3 separate regions of the Homo sapiens genome follow, and all the other regions are linked to region 1. The links are contacts of gene promoters, found by promoter capture Hi-C in blood cells and fetal thymus (Javierre and others, 2016). All regions are on one chromosome and are shown on one strand. Each heading gives the region's core, a stretch centred on a gene start or on the middle of the fragment in contact. The rest is flanking DNA. Distances are from core to core; before and after follow the strand shown. Region 1 holds the start of TCERG1 (transcription elongation regulator 1). Region 2 overlaps FBXO38 (F-box protein 38). Region 3 holds the start of FBXO38 (F-box protein 38).

Region 1 (4,368 bases), core at 796-3,295:
AGGCCAAGGTGGGCAGATCACTTCAGCTCAGGAGTTCAAGACCAGCCTGGCCAACATGGCAAAACCCCGTCTTTACCAAAAATATAAAAAATTAGCTGGATGTGGTGGCGGAGGCCTGTGGGAGCTACTTGGGAGGCTGAAGTGTGAGGATCGCTTGAGCCTGGGAGGCGGAGGTTGCAGTGAGCTGATATCATGCCACTGCACTCCAGCCTGGGTGACAGAGTGACACTCCCTCTCAAAATAAGTAAATAAATAAATAAATAGTATAGAATTCAATGGGTTTTAGTATATTCACAAAGTTGTGCAACCATCAGCGCCAATTCCAGAACATTTTTATCATCCAAAAAGACATTCCATATCCATCAGCAGTCACTTCCAATTCCTCATTCCCCTCTACCTCCTGGAAACCACTGTTCTACTTTCTGTCTGTATGTATTTGCCTGAAATGCAATGCAATTTCATCATATTTCATGTAAATGGAATCATACAACAGGCGGCCTTTTTGTATGTGGCTTTTTATGTCTGAACAATATTTCATTGTACAGTTATACCATGTTTCTTTTTTTTTTGAGACGGAGTCTCGCTCTGTTGCCCAGGCTGGAGTGCAGTGGCGCGATCTCTGCTCACTGCAAGCTCTGCCTCCGGGGTTCACGCCATTCTCCTGCCACAGCCTCCCGAGTAGCTGGGACTACAGGCGCCCGCCACCACGCCGGGCTATTTGTTTTTAGTAGAGACAGGGTTTCACCGTGTGAGCCAGGATGGTCTTGATCTCCTGACCTCGTGATCCGCCCGTCTAGGCCTCCCAAAGTGCTGGGATTACAGGTTTGGGCCACCGCGCCCGGCCTATACCATGCTTCTTAACCATGCATCAGCTGATGGTCATTGGGTTGTTACAATACTTTTTGGCTATTATGAATATTGCTGCTGTGAACATTTGTGCACATGTTTTTATGTGGATCCAATTATTTAGGCTTACAGTATTTAAGAGTGCTGCTTTGCTACTACGCTGACTGGGGTTAAGACCAGGCTCTGCTATTTAGTAGATGTGTGACCTTGGGCAAGTTACTTAACTTCTCTGTGCCTCAAGCTCATCTACAAACAGTGACTATGTTACCCACCTCCTAGCAATTTTTGAATCTTAAAAGAGTTAACGTACCTGACATACTTAGATCCGGGTTTGCTACATGGTTAGGTCCAAGTAAAATTTATCTATTAGTATTATTTTAATATTTTTACGACTTTAATAAAAGGGCTCATCTTCATTGTGCCTTTGAAACCCCAAATCCAAAACTTTTTTTTTTGTTAATTAGAAAAACTAAATAAATATTCAGAATTGTCTGGTATTCTGGGTGTGCTAATTTCAGACAAGCACATTTTGAGATCGAGGGAGACGTGGTTAAGCTGTAAATTGCAAAGAGGCTTGCCTTCGCCAATTTACCTTTCTTAATGCAGCAACTTATAACACCTATTGGCTTGCAACGGTTTAGTATAATTTGGGAGGTATTCTTGTAATTAATAATATATTATTTAATAACATGGATATAGAGCTGAGTGGTGACTTAAGACTCCTGCTACTGTAAAGCTAGGAAATAGCGGCTTTCCACAGCAACTGTGCAATCGGTTTAGGCGCGGCCCAGGTCGATTTTGATTGGCTTGCCCAGTGGAAATGCTCTCCGCCTGAGCTACTACTGGCCAATATGGCTCCACAATTGGCTCTCCTGGAAGCCGACAGACACGTGGCTACCGCAGGCTGAGCCGAACTTGGGAGGACTTAGTTCTGCTTACCGCGAGAGGGCGCCGGCGGTTCCTCACTGCTAAAATCTCATTTCCCATAAAGCCCCCGAGTCACCAATCAACTGGCTGTCTTCATACCGCTTTCAAAGTCGGCGGGCGCCTTGCCCAATAGCAAAGAACATATCGCCCCCATTTCGAAGATTGATGGAAAGTTTGACCAACCGCATCTCAGACTTCTGCTGTCTCCGCCTCTCTCGTTGGGGATTGACGATTTTTCTAGCCAATAGGAGACGTCGGGTCGGCGGGTGGATGAACGCGGCCCTCTGTAATGGCGGAGCGTGGCGGGGACGGGGGCGAGAGTGAACGATTCAACCCGGGGGAGCTCAGGTAAGGAACGCTGCCCTCCTTCACATCTCTGCTCACGAGAGCCCCAGAGGCTAGACGCTAGACCTGCCATGTGGAGATCCGGGGCGGACGGTGGGTAGCGGAGCCGGGCGGCCCGGGCCGGGACCGCATGGGGTTTAAGAAGGGGGAAGGGGAAGGTGGCTTGAATGAGAGCCGGGCCCGGGCTGGGCCAGGGCCTCCTGCGCGTTCCCTGGCTGCTTCCTAGTGCTTTCTTGGGGCCTCGCCGCCTCTCGCGGCCTGCAGCCCTCTGGCCGGGCGCGGTGCTCCCGCCTTTGGGCCCCGCCTCAGCCGCGTGTCGCCTCCGTCTCGGCCGACCTGAGTCTGTCCCCAGGCCGCGCTCCGCTGCGGGCCTGATTTTCCTCATCGACGTCTCTGCACTCCGCAGTTACTTTCCCTGTACCCCTCGCCACTTCTGGCTAAGCCTTCTCCACGCCCTCCGCGGCTCTTTGGGCTCCCCACGTTTGCCCTTTCATTTCATCCCCCTCATTGCTTGCCTTTCTTAACTTCTGTGGCTTTTCTTCCTTTTTTCATCCCTTTATTCCTTATTATCCTGTAGTTGTGAGTAACAACAACAGTAGCAACCCCTTATTAGGCACTTACCGTGTGCCAGTAAACCCTTTACTTAGGTTTGTCTCATTTAATCCTCACAACCACCCTTTGGAGTAGTTGCTATTAACATTTTGCAGGCCACAGACCAGAGGGGTCTTCAGTTGTTACTCGCCCATCTTACAGGTGAGATAACAGCCTCGTGGAGGTTGAGTCAGTAGAATAAGATTGCATAGGCGGATTTGTGGCTCCAGGAAGTGGCTTGAACTCAGGCAGTCAGGTTTCAGAGCCTGCAATCCCAATTGGCGTTCTATTCGTCTACTACTCATGCCATTTCCTTGAACAGTGCAGTGACCTTTTTTTCCCCTGGAACCTCAGTGTCTATGAGTTTGTAATTAAAATTTGGTAAAATGAGAGTGACCTGGAGAAATCTTTTGGTCAGTGGTTTTTGAGGAAAAGAGGTATTATGCTTTATGTGTATTTGGTACTTTGGTTTTTTTCTGTATGGGAGAAATGGCATTTCAGATGTTCAGCTCCCATTCTGAATTGTGCTGTTGTCAACGTTTGAAAATGAAAAAGAGCAGGGTAGATTATGAAGACTCTGTTGATACTGTCTTGAACTTAAGATGAAATTGTGTAAGGAAATGGGTATTGTTATTCAAGGTTTTAGAAGAGGAAAATGCCTTTCAGATTCTGTATGGTCGCACACACAAATCTCCACTTTGGCAGAAATGAAATTTTGTTTTATTTCAGAGATGAATCTGAAATCCTTTAAACTCCATATGTATACAGTATTAATGAGTGATCAAGGTGAATTGTCAGCATCTTTAAATATTAGCGATGCCAAGTTTATTCCTGATTTCGATCTTAAAGGGAGGTTACTTAGCTAGTTTCAGATGGATTTATTAGGGAACATTCTTTTGCATTTTAGAAAGTATCTTTCTAAAGCTTTAAAAAAATCCAAATGGCTTTATTAATAGTCTAGACACTGTTGCACAACTGATTTGAATAGAGCTTTAATTTGCAAATGAATTTGCCCTGTTGCAAATATTTTATACCGTAGCCTCTTGGATTGGAAGTTGCTTGCAGAGCATACTGTACAGATCTTTATTTTAGCATTTCTCATGAAATTAGGTGTGTATGTGGCCTCTTTGATGGCAGAAGTTGGGGCTTAATTTTTGCATTATATTTGTAACCTGAATGTACTTCATGGTGTGTCTGTCATAACCGCCTGGCAAATGAGATGTTCTGTAGTTATGTTGTAAATAAATGAAGATAGGAGATTTAAAGATACTTCACTTATTGGGCCGACATTTATTGTGTGCTACATGACAGTTGCTGACCTAGGTGCTGGTAATAGTGCCCTGAACCAGACCGAAAAAAGAGGTTTGTCCTGCAGGAGCTTCCAGCTTAAGTAAGAGCCATCTAAATTGTAAATGAAATCAACCACATCAAATGATTAAATCTGCCTGTAAGTGTGAAGTGACTTACACAAGGTCACTGGGTAGTTGGCAGGGTCTGGACTAAACCTCAGGTCTCCTCAATCATAGTTTATACAATTTGCCCCCATATATCGGTAGCATCTTTTTATTTCTTGCCCCTCCAGTTAAAGTATTGTCTTTAGCATTGGGGAGATTGCATATCTGGATAGAGAACTTCTATTGTAGAAAAATACCTTATGTT
Region 2 (4,368 bases), core at 897-3,396, 2.0 Mb after region 1:
AGTCATCAAATCAGTTGGTAACTCTTATCAGCTGGCCATAGTAGTTATCAATATATACTTTCTTATAAAGAACATTGCAAACACCTGAGGCTGGAGCTTATTAATAGGTTTGTGGGAGGCAAACCACGGTTACTTTCAGATATTTAATAAAAGCCATTCTAAGGGCAAAAGCCTCATCTCATCTTGTTTCAGAATGATCCTGTATGTCAGGAAAGAAAAAAAATTAGGGCAGTGTGAAAATGATTGTCTTATTCCTTATATTAGATTTACTTTTGCAAAGGTTAGGCCAGCTGGAATTCTGAAGACGGGATTAACACAGTATATAAAGACAGGATGGCAGAACTCCCATGTGATATAGTCTTACCATTAACATCACTACCACTTACCAATTAGAGAAGAATTTGACTGCATGTTGCTGACTTTTAGGCTATGATAAATAACCTGTGAGCCCAAGGCTTCCCATCTTTGCAATGAATGTAAAAGAGAGTTGAAGCAAACAGTCTCTAGCCTAGGATAAGATCACACTAACCTTGCTCACTAATGCCACCTTGGCCTATTATCTGGCATTTAACTCAGATCCTTTATATAATAGTACTTTATGGTTTACGTATATGATCTCTTTGGATTCTCACTCCATCTCTGTAAAGAAGATAGAACTTTCCCCATTTCTCTCGTGGGAGGCAACATGTATGACAAAAGAGGATAAACATTGCAGGGGTTACACTTGGTTTTAGATTCCAGCACTGCCATTTGGAAGCTCTTAAACTCTCTCAACTTCATTTTTTATGCTTGTATATGGGGTGATAACCTTTCTGATTTGGTTGTGAGAATAAATGAAAAAAAATGATTAACACATTGAATCGTTCAGTCATTAAAAGTTACTATACAAGAAAGTAATAAGAACTGTTATTATAATTAGAGACCAAGTAATCTCTGGTCTCTCCTTACTCTTCACTAAAGTTAGCATGTCTGGACTTTACATGTTAAATGAGATAACTTAAAAATAAAACAACTTTCAAAAAAGTATGTAAGACTTAAATATTTGGGGCCTACTTTTTGTTCTTGACAGTTAATGTTTTTCTTTGTCATTAATAAGCAGACAGTTGGCTTTCTGACCACTTTCATTAAAAATAAAAAAGCCCTTGTAACAGATTAAAATAGGATCTATATGAGACTTGTCTCCCCACTTACTTAACCAACAGCTCCTGCTGTGGAAGTAACCTGCCTCTCTCTGTTCCCATCTTGTTGATTCCTACTATGGTCTCCTGGATAGATAGCTTCCTATCAACAGCATACCCTGAGATTGGATCACTCTGGTTCTCTTAGCTAACTTGCATCTGTCTTTTTCAAAAGAATTAATTGTCTAAAATGGCGGGGGAGTAATAGTTAAACATATGACAGAGTATCAGAGTAATTATTAGAAAATGGATAGAATAATTTGAGATAGGAATTAGGTCAGAACTGTGAGCTTCCTAACGATGAGGATCATATCTTATTTATATTTTTAGTTATGTGTTCTATAGAGTCCTGAAGGTTTTACAGACGAGAGTACCCATGGGGGAGGAGGAGGGTGGTGGTGATCAGGTGGGTGGTCCCACTCCATCCACCAAATAGGTCCAAGTTATCTGGGTTAAAAGTGTGTTCTTTGTTGAAGATTTCTATGCCTTAAAAGCAACAAAAACCAAAAAGTCAATAATAAAAGCCTCCTCCATAAAGTATTAACTTAGATTAAGTGGAGTTTCTGACTCATTTCCTCTGTTACTAAAGGAGTATATTTTCTGTTATGTTTATTCAGCTTTAGTGTTAGCTTTACGGAAATTTGAAGAGGAAGTCTTTTTTAACTTTTGGTAAAAATCACGAGTGCCTAGTAAATGTTAATGAACAGAAAGATGAACCTGGCTCTAAATACTTCTGAACTTCTCAGGCTTTACAGATGCCAGTTTTCTAACACTATTAAAGAAGATGCCAGATGTTGAACAGCTATATGGCCTTCACCCTCGATACCTTGAGAGGCGAAGAGTAAGGGGCCATGAGGCTTTTAGCATTCCAGGAGTCCTAGAAGCTTTGCAGGCATGCCCAAACTTAGTGGTGAGTGCACCTGGTTGAACATTTTGGCATCAACTGTTTATGAAATAATAGACCAAAGAATGATAGACGTGTTCACTCACATGCAAATCTCATCTGTCACAAACTTTTAAGTTCCATTGTGTACTTAGCATCTTGTGGTACATAAAGCTTTGGATGCTAAACTAAAGTCTTTTCTTATGCTTGCTTTGGCATTATTTTCTAGGGTGTGGAAACTTCTCATTTGGAGTTGGTAGAATCCATTTGGACATATATGCCCCATGTTCATATTTTGGGGAAATTTCGTAATCGTAATGGAGCTTTTCCAATTCCTCCTGAAAATAAACTGAAAATTCCTATAGGAGCCAAAATTCAAACTTTACATTTAGTTGGTGAGTACATGTTTCTTGGGTCACTTGTAACTCCTTGAAATGCCATAAAATGTGAATATTCACTGAAAAAGAATAATGAGAATTTTAGAGATGGCTTTGTTGATTGATGATTGCAAAATAAATGTTTGCAAGATCTGTATAAAAATTCCGATTTCCCATTAAAGATCCACTGGTGTGAGGGAAATACTGCTTCACAAGTGTACATTCTCCATCTGAATATTCTTTGAAATTATATACCAGTAACTTCAACTTAAGTAAAAAGTGTAAATATTTTCTCAAATTTGTCACCTTTGGCTTAGGCCACTGAAAGGAATTCGGGGGTCCCTGTTAATATAGCTGGCCTTTAATATTTGTTTACTACTTTATTCTGTATATATACACACACATACACAGAGAGAGAGAGAGTATATGTGTTTTAAGCATTATTCTAGGTATTGGGGATGGTCTAAAGAAGTGGAAATTTCTGAAACTCAGGTGGTACAGGGAGAGCATCAGGAATGATAAGGAGTAGGTCTTAAATAAGACTTAGATACACAATTATGGGAGAAGAGTAAAGATTTCTAGCAACCCTTCATTTATAAGATCAGGGAGTGATATCTAGTTTGAAATTGGATTTTTAGATGTAAAAGGATTCTGTAATATCTGGAATTTATAATATAAGCTCCTTAAGGTCAAAGACTTATTTCCATATCTTTATATTTTCTACAATGCCTGTCACAGTTCATTGCAAATATAAGTACAGGGTAAGTTTTATTAAAATGCATTAATTTATGGGAATCATTTAACAGTTTAACACTGTATTATGGTGATGCAGAGGTGTGGTAAATTAATAAAAATAAACATTACCAGGAGAATGGGCAGTTATGTCCTTTGTTTATAGAGTTTGTTTGAGACAGAAAGTGGTTTGGGCCTGGGGTATACTGTCTTCTCTGCATCTGTCTCACCCTTCTTCCTTGGGTTTCCTAATCAGTACAATCAGTACTACCATCTTCATAGTATTACAATATATGCTAAATTTAACCTTTGTGACTTCTGCATCTTACATCTCAATCTGTACCTCACTTCTGCTTTTTGTCCTTTTGTCTCATCCTTAATTTTACTTCCCATTTGTTGCTATACAATGTGTGTGCATAGTTCAAACTAAATTTAACTCTGCTATTTTGAGAGGAACAAGTTAAGGGGTAATCCTTGTAGGTTACAATAAGAACATTTGGTAGAATTTAGCCTTTATAAACAACTGACCATTCAAGTACTGCAATTTTACATTCTCTAGTTATTCTTGCTAGCAGAGCTCCTATTGTCTCAAATTTAAAAATTGCATTAAACAGTTTTGCCAACTACTGTTTGTTAAATGCCATCATCCTGGATCCTTGGATTTCTTTAATAAATTTGTGTCCCTTCCTTGGCTTTTATCTTCTTTCATCCATATTTCCTGTATTTTTTCACCTCACGCTACACCTCCCTTCTTCTGGTCATGGTCCTCTGTGGATATGATTCCTAGTATTAAGCCACTCCTGGATCCCATGCATCAAATTACCTTTACCAATTTGAAATTCTAAAATAAATGACTGGCAGGTTTCTGCTTTTCTCAGAGCCATGCTGGCTGGCTTCTCCCACACATTTACAAATTCTTAAGATTCATATATTTATAGAAAACAGCTTTTAAAGTTCTGTGTTTGGCTATCTTCCAGATATCTATTTGCATATTTAAACCCATCTAGCTGACTTTGCTCTGAGAAATATAGTTCTCCTACTAGGGGGCAGTGGATGTTGGTAGTCAAATAGTAAATTTGTGTGTTCCATCTCCATCGTTATAGTTTTGCTTTCAGTAATCCATTTTCACTTTACCTCTTCTGGGAAAACGTATCCTAGAAGAGTTGTAAGATTATGAGAAAGACTTACATGTCTAAGA
Region 3 (4,368 bases), core at 970-3,469, 1.9 Mb after region 1:
ACCATAATGTCTATTTTAAAGAAACCTGAACCTTAGAGCTGAAGTGATTGCCCATTGTCTCTCTGCCAGTAAGCAGAGGAACTCACAGTTAACCAAGTCTTTCTGGTTCTAAAGCCTGCATTGCTGACTACTAAATACACAACTTCTCAGTCAAAACAGCTACAATAGTTTTTTTTTTTCCTTTTTACCTTCAAAAAAAATCCTGTATTTGAATTCATAGTGGAGTTCTGCCATATACGCCAAGTCTAAGGGTAGTTAAGAATAGCCTTGATATGCATAGCACCTTCTGCAGTTGTGCACTGAACAGGCTCCATAGCCATATGAACCTGTCCTGAGCAAACTCCAACCACTATCCCTGACCAAAACTTCTCTTGAGTATTAGTCATCATTTTAACAAAGGGATTATCTGTTGTTTAGGTACCTAAGGAATTTCAAGGAAGAACACGGGCTGATACTAGAACTCATGGAAGAATGAAAAGAGATACTTTAGAATTTAATTAAAAAGTGGGGATTGAAAATTAAAACAACACAGCGGTTTAAGGTCATTTACTGTAGGGCAAACTTTCCTGCAGCGCTCAGGGACCCCATGATGGTGCCACTGTACAGGAGAAATACTAACTCAGGACCTTTTTAATGAAAACCTGTAACATCAAGGTACAAATAAATCCTAGAGATGAAGGGATACATATAACATGCTCTACCTGAAAATGTTAAAACTAGTTTTGATATCTTATTATATATAACACTCATAGCAGTGAGAAAATATCTTTAACATTTATTACAATGATTTGTGGTAGGAAATTTTCTAAACTTGAGGTAGGAAACCTTTCTTACTCATGAGTATTCATTTCAGGTCCCACTACAGTGCTTTTTACAAAAGGAGGAATGCTAATAAAATGAAAATCATATTCCATTGAATTAAAAATTCAGGCCAATTGTGCTGAAATAAATCTTACTGAATGCCTTCTAAATATGCCATGCCCTGCACTAGAAACTTTCGTAATTCCTATTTATTCTTCAGAATAACCTGGGAAACAGAAAAAGCTAAAGTCTGTTTCCTTTATTAAAGTTTGAATATGAAGAAACCGACAGAAGCAAATAGCATAAAAATTCATTTTTGTCTTCAATTACAGGAAGAATGTAACATGAAAGCTGAGATTACAATGAATAGTACATGAATATGATGAGGTTTTGTTTTGTTTGTCCTACCAGAGCTCCAAATAAAAACACAGATATATGGTTTGACATACGGAATGGGATAGCTAAAACTGTGACTGCCTAAGACAAGCTGAAACCTAAGGTGCCGAACCATATTGGGGAAAGAGGGGAAAAACCAGTAGGTCTGCTATCAATCAAGAAAAGAATAAGAAGAAATGGGATTCCCAAGCCTTCTTCAGCTTTTTCTTCTCCAGCAGAATAGCCTAGTCAATGCTACGTCTTGTCAAATTGTGTCTCACATGGCTTTAATGCACACTAACTTTCCTAAGAAGTATTTGTATCTATTTAAATCTAGGGATTTTAGCCCATATTAATTACATGTATATTAGGGCAAGAACACAGGATGTAAAAGGTAAAAATCTGAATTTCAGTCCATCTGCGAGACATTGTGAAAATCAATTACACTCTCTGAAGACAATTCCTTATCCATTAAACAACAGAAAAGGTGATTAAGTTGATCCTTGCCTACATGTCAGAGTCGTGTAGAGTTTTTAATGACACTCATGTGAAATTCCTTTGGACTGTAAAATACTATTACTTACGTGCAAAGATAATGTCCCGAAATCACAGAAGGGATGACTTAACATTAACATCTTTAACTGCGCCCCCGTCCTTCCTCTCAAAAAAAAAAAGTTCTCTATTTTTAGTTGAATGATTCTGGGAAAATCTCTATTGGAACCTATCGACTTCGCAAATGACAAAGGCGAGGTCCAGAGACTTATCCAAGACCCCAGAGTACCAGTGGAAATCAAGACCAAACCACACGGTGGAGACTGGTTCCGACGTATCAGACTCAGTGCTTCCGGCATGGCGCTTTAGTGTCAGGTGAAAGAACAGCAACCCGCCCCGCTTCTCCACCCCTGACAAGCCTTCCGAAATGCCACGCTGAACATGGCTGCCGCGCTTCGATGCTTCTTCACACACACAATATGGACACGGGTTTGAGGCTCCAGCCCCGGATGACAACACTCCGGAAATATGCGAGCGGCGGCGGAAGCGGAAGTGCCTCAGCGGTAGGGGCCGGGGAAGTGTCTGTAGCGTCCCTCCCTCTCAACCACAATAACAGGCGGAGGGTCGGCGTAGGTGAGGCGGCGGCTGAGTGGGCCTGGGGACCGGGAGCGGGGTGGCAAAGCCCGGAGTGCGTGCGGCAGGGCTGAGGTAGCTGGGTGGGGATTCTGGAACTTCCGACCGCTTAAGCTCGGCCTCTGGCCCCCTTGGGGCCTAGAGCTCCTTGAGAGATCAGGGGTTGAATTTGTAGTTCCTGGCCTTCTAGGCCGTGCTTGCGGGGGTTGCCTGCTTGTCTGAACCTGGCCCCAAAATCCAGCATAAAGAACTCTCTCTGGGCCCCAGTTTCCTCAATGAAATGGGTGAGGGTGTTGGACTGGACAGCTTCTGTGACTGTCTCCCACCCCGGGCGTCACGAATTTCATGATTTTAATGTTAAGTCGGTGTTTCGGCCAGTAAAGTGAAGGAGGTCTGTGTTCAGCGTAGTGAGGAGATGTCCCTGAGCAGGAAGCAGTGAACACATCTTTGGCTGCCACGCCTGAGTATCAGGAGCCCTGAATTCTAGTTTCACCCCTTCCACCTACACACCGTGTGACCTTGTCTAGGTCCATTAGCTTTTCTGTGCTGCAGTTTGCTTATCTGTGTTGGATGCCTTTGATGTCCGTGCCCTAGCTGTGGAAATCAGATTCTTAACTCCCTTTTCATGGAGTCTTTACAGACCTGAAAAGCATATTCTCCCTGCACTCTGCACACCCAGAATTTGACTAAGAGATGTCTACCGTGTTTCTTTGCAGACACCAAGCTGGCCAAGGGCAACTGGTCACTTAGGAAGGTTCCTGTGCAATGAGAAGCTCTGTCCAGAAAACTTTGTTTTATACACCTAAACCAGCAGTGTAAATCACTACAAAGTGAAAAACAGGAGACCTTGATTTTTGTTCCAAAGTTGCTATTAACTTGATGGTTTACTTTGGCCAAATCCCTTCCTCTCTCTGAACTTGAGATTTTTTTATCTGCTAAAGGAAGACGTTGGATTAGGTCACTGGTTTTTAATCCCCTTTCCCATTCCCCCAGCACAAGTGAAGGATAAAATAATAGTTCTATAAAGCCATGATTTTCCCAGGGAAGGAGGAGGTCCAGTCTGGAGGGTATGTATTACATAGGCATAGACTGAAAAAAATCCGCTTGTAATTTTTAACTTTCATTTTGAGAATTAACATTTTAGATTATCTGTAAGCCTTCTTTCCCCTCTTTAAAATATGTGATGCTGTAATTCTGATGTCCTCCTTGGGTAAAGAATGTAGAGTTTTGTGTGCCTCTTTGTTTAAATGGCTGTGTGCCCAGAGGTACACACTTTATATTTAGTCAAACAGATACTAATGCATAGCAGAGGAGAAAAAGGGACAACTAGATTCCAGTAAGATAGGGTGATATAGTGAAGTAAAATTGGTGGTATACTAAAATGAAATAAGGTGGTATAGTGAAATAAAATTAAAAAGGAGTTGAAGACCTGTATCCCTGCTTCACACTGGTACATCCTGCCTCTGTGACTTTGGACAAGCCATCTAACATCTCTAGGCCTCACTTTCCTTATCTGTAAAACGAAGGGTTGAGCTGGATGATTCCTAGGCCTTTTTCAGCACCATCATCCTGTTGGGGGGTTTTTGTTTTGTTTTGTTTGTGTGTGGTTTTTATCTGAGCAGTTTGGTTTATGTGGTGTGGTATTTCTTTAGACAAGAGAGGCTGTCCTGGTCAGTAGATACACAAGATAGTCTATGATGTCAATTAAGGTCTGTGAGGTCAAATTAAGTGATATGCAAGATTACTTTGATATGAGCAAGCTGAAACCAATAGAAACTAAAGAAAGGCATGAGAAACTTGAAGGGCAGGGAAGCCCTTGACCAGATAGGATCATTGAGAATATAGGGAAGTTTCAAGTGAGAGGGGGTATTTTTCACGAGGGTAAAGAAAAGTAATTTGAGTTTGGGATGGGAAGGAGATTTGAATTGACGAGATAGGAGAACACTTTTTGGAAACAACTCTGGTTTAAGAATGTGCTTGCAACACCAAGACAAAAGTAATGCTTCCTGTGGCTAAGGTCAGCTAAGCAGGCAGCCACAGAGTGACTGTAATATACCAAAGGTGGCC

What was found. The method cuts DNA at HindIII sites, captures the fragments that hold promoters and counts their contacts. A CHiCAGO score of 5 or more calls a contact.
Region 2: a contact is called between a fragment that was not itself captured here and the fragment with the promoter of TCERG1 in region 1, in 1 of 17 cell types (total B cells). The highest score is 6.7, in total B cells.
Region 3: the fragment with the promoter of FBXO38 here is called in contact with the fragment with the promoter of TCERG1 in region 1 in 2 of 17 cell types (total CD4 T cells and naive CD8 T cells); the score reaches 7.7 in total CD4 T cells.

Annotation. Positions count from the first base shown.
Region 1 is chr5:146,445,288-146,449,655 of GRCh38, forward strand. TCERG1 (transcription elongation regulator 1) reads left to right here and starts at 2,046. Exons shown (of 23, transcript NM_001382548.1): 1 at 2,046-2,121. The coding sequence starts at 2,063. RefSeq lists an enhancer at 1,709-2,416 and a silencer at 2,335-2,414. The HindIII fragment of the contact is 4,342 bases long and covers 1-3,631 here.
Region 2 is chr5:148,400,058-148,404,425 of GRCh38, forward strand. FBXO38 (F-box protein 38) reads left to right here. Exons shown (of 22, transcript NM_205836.3): 4 at 1,925-2,088; 5 at 2,291-2,456. Among named protein-coding and RNA genes, the nearest start is that of FBXO38, 18 kb to the left of the region's middle. The HindIII fragment of the contact is 173 bases long and covers 2,061-2,233 here.
Region 3 is chr5:148,381,739-148,386,106 of GRCh38, forward strand. FBXO38 (F-box protein 38) reads left to right here and starts at 2,220. Exons shown (of 22, transcript NM_205836.3): 1 at 2,220-2,301. It overlaps FBXO38-DT (FBXO38 divergent transcript), which reads right to left and starts at 2,112. Exons shown (of 5, transcript NR_105057.1): 1 at 1,761-2,112. RefSeq lists an enhancer at 1,997-2,196. The HindIII fragment of the contact is 17,680 bases long and covers 1-4,368 here.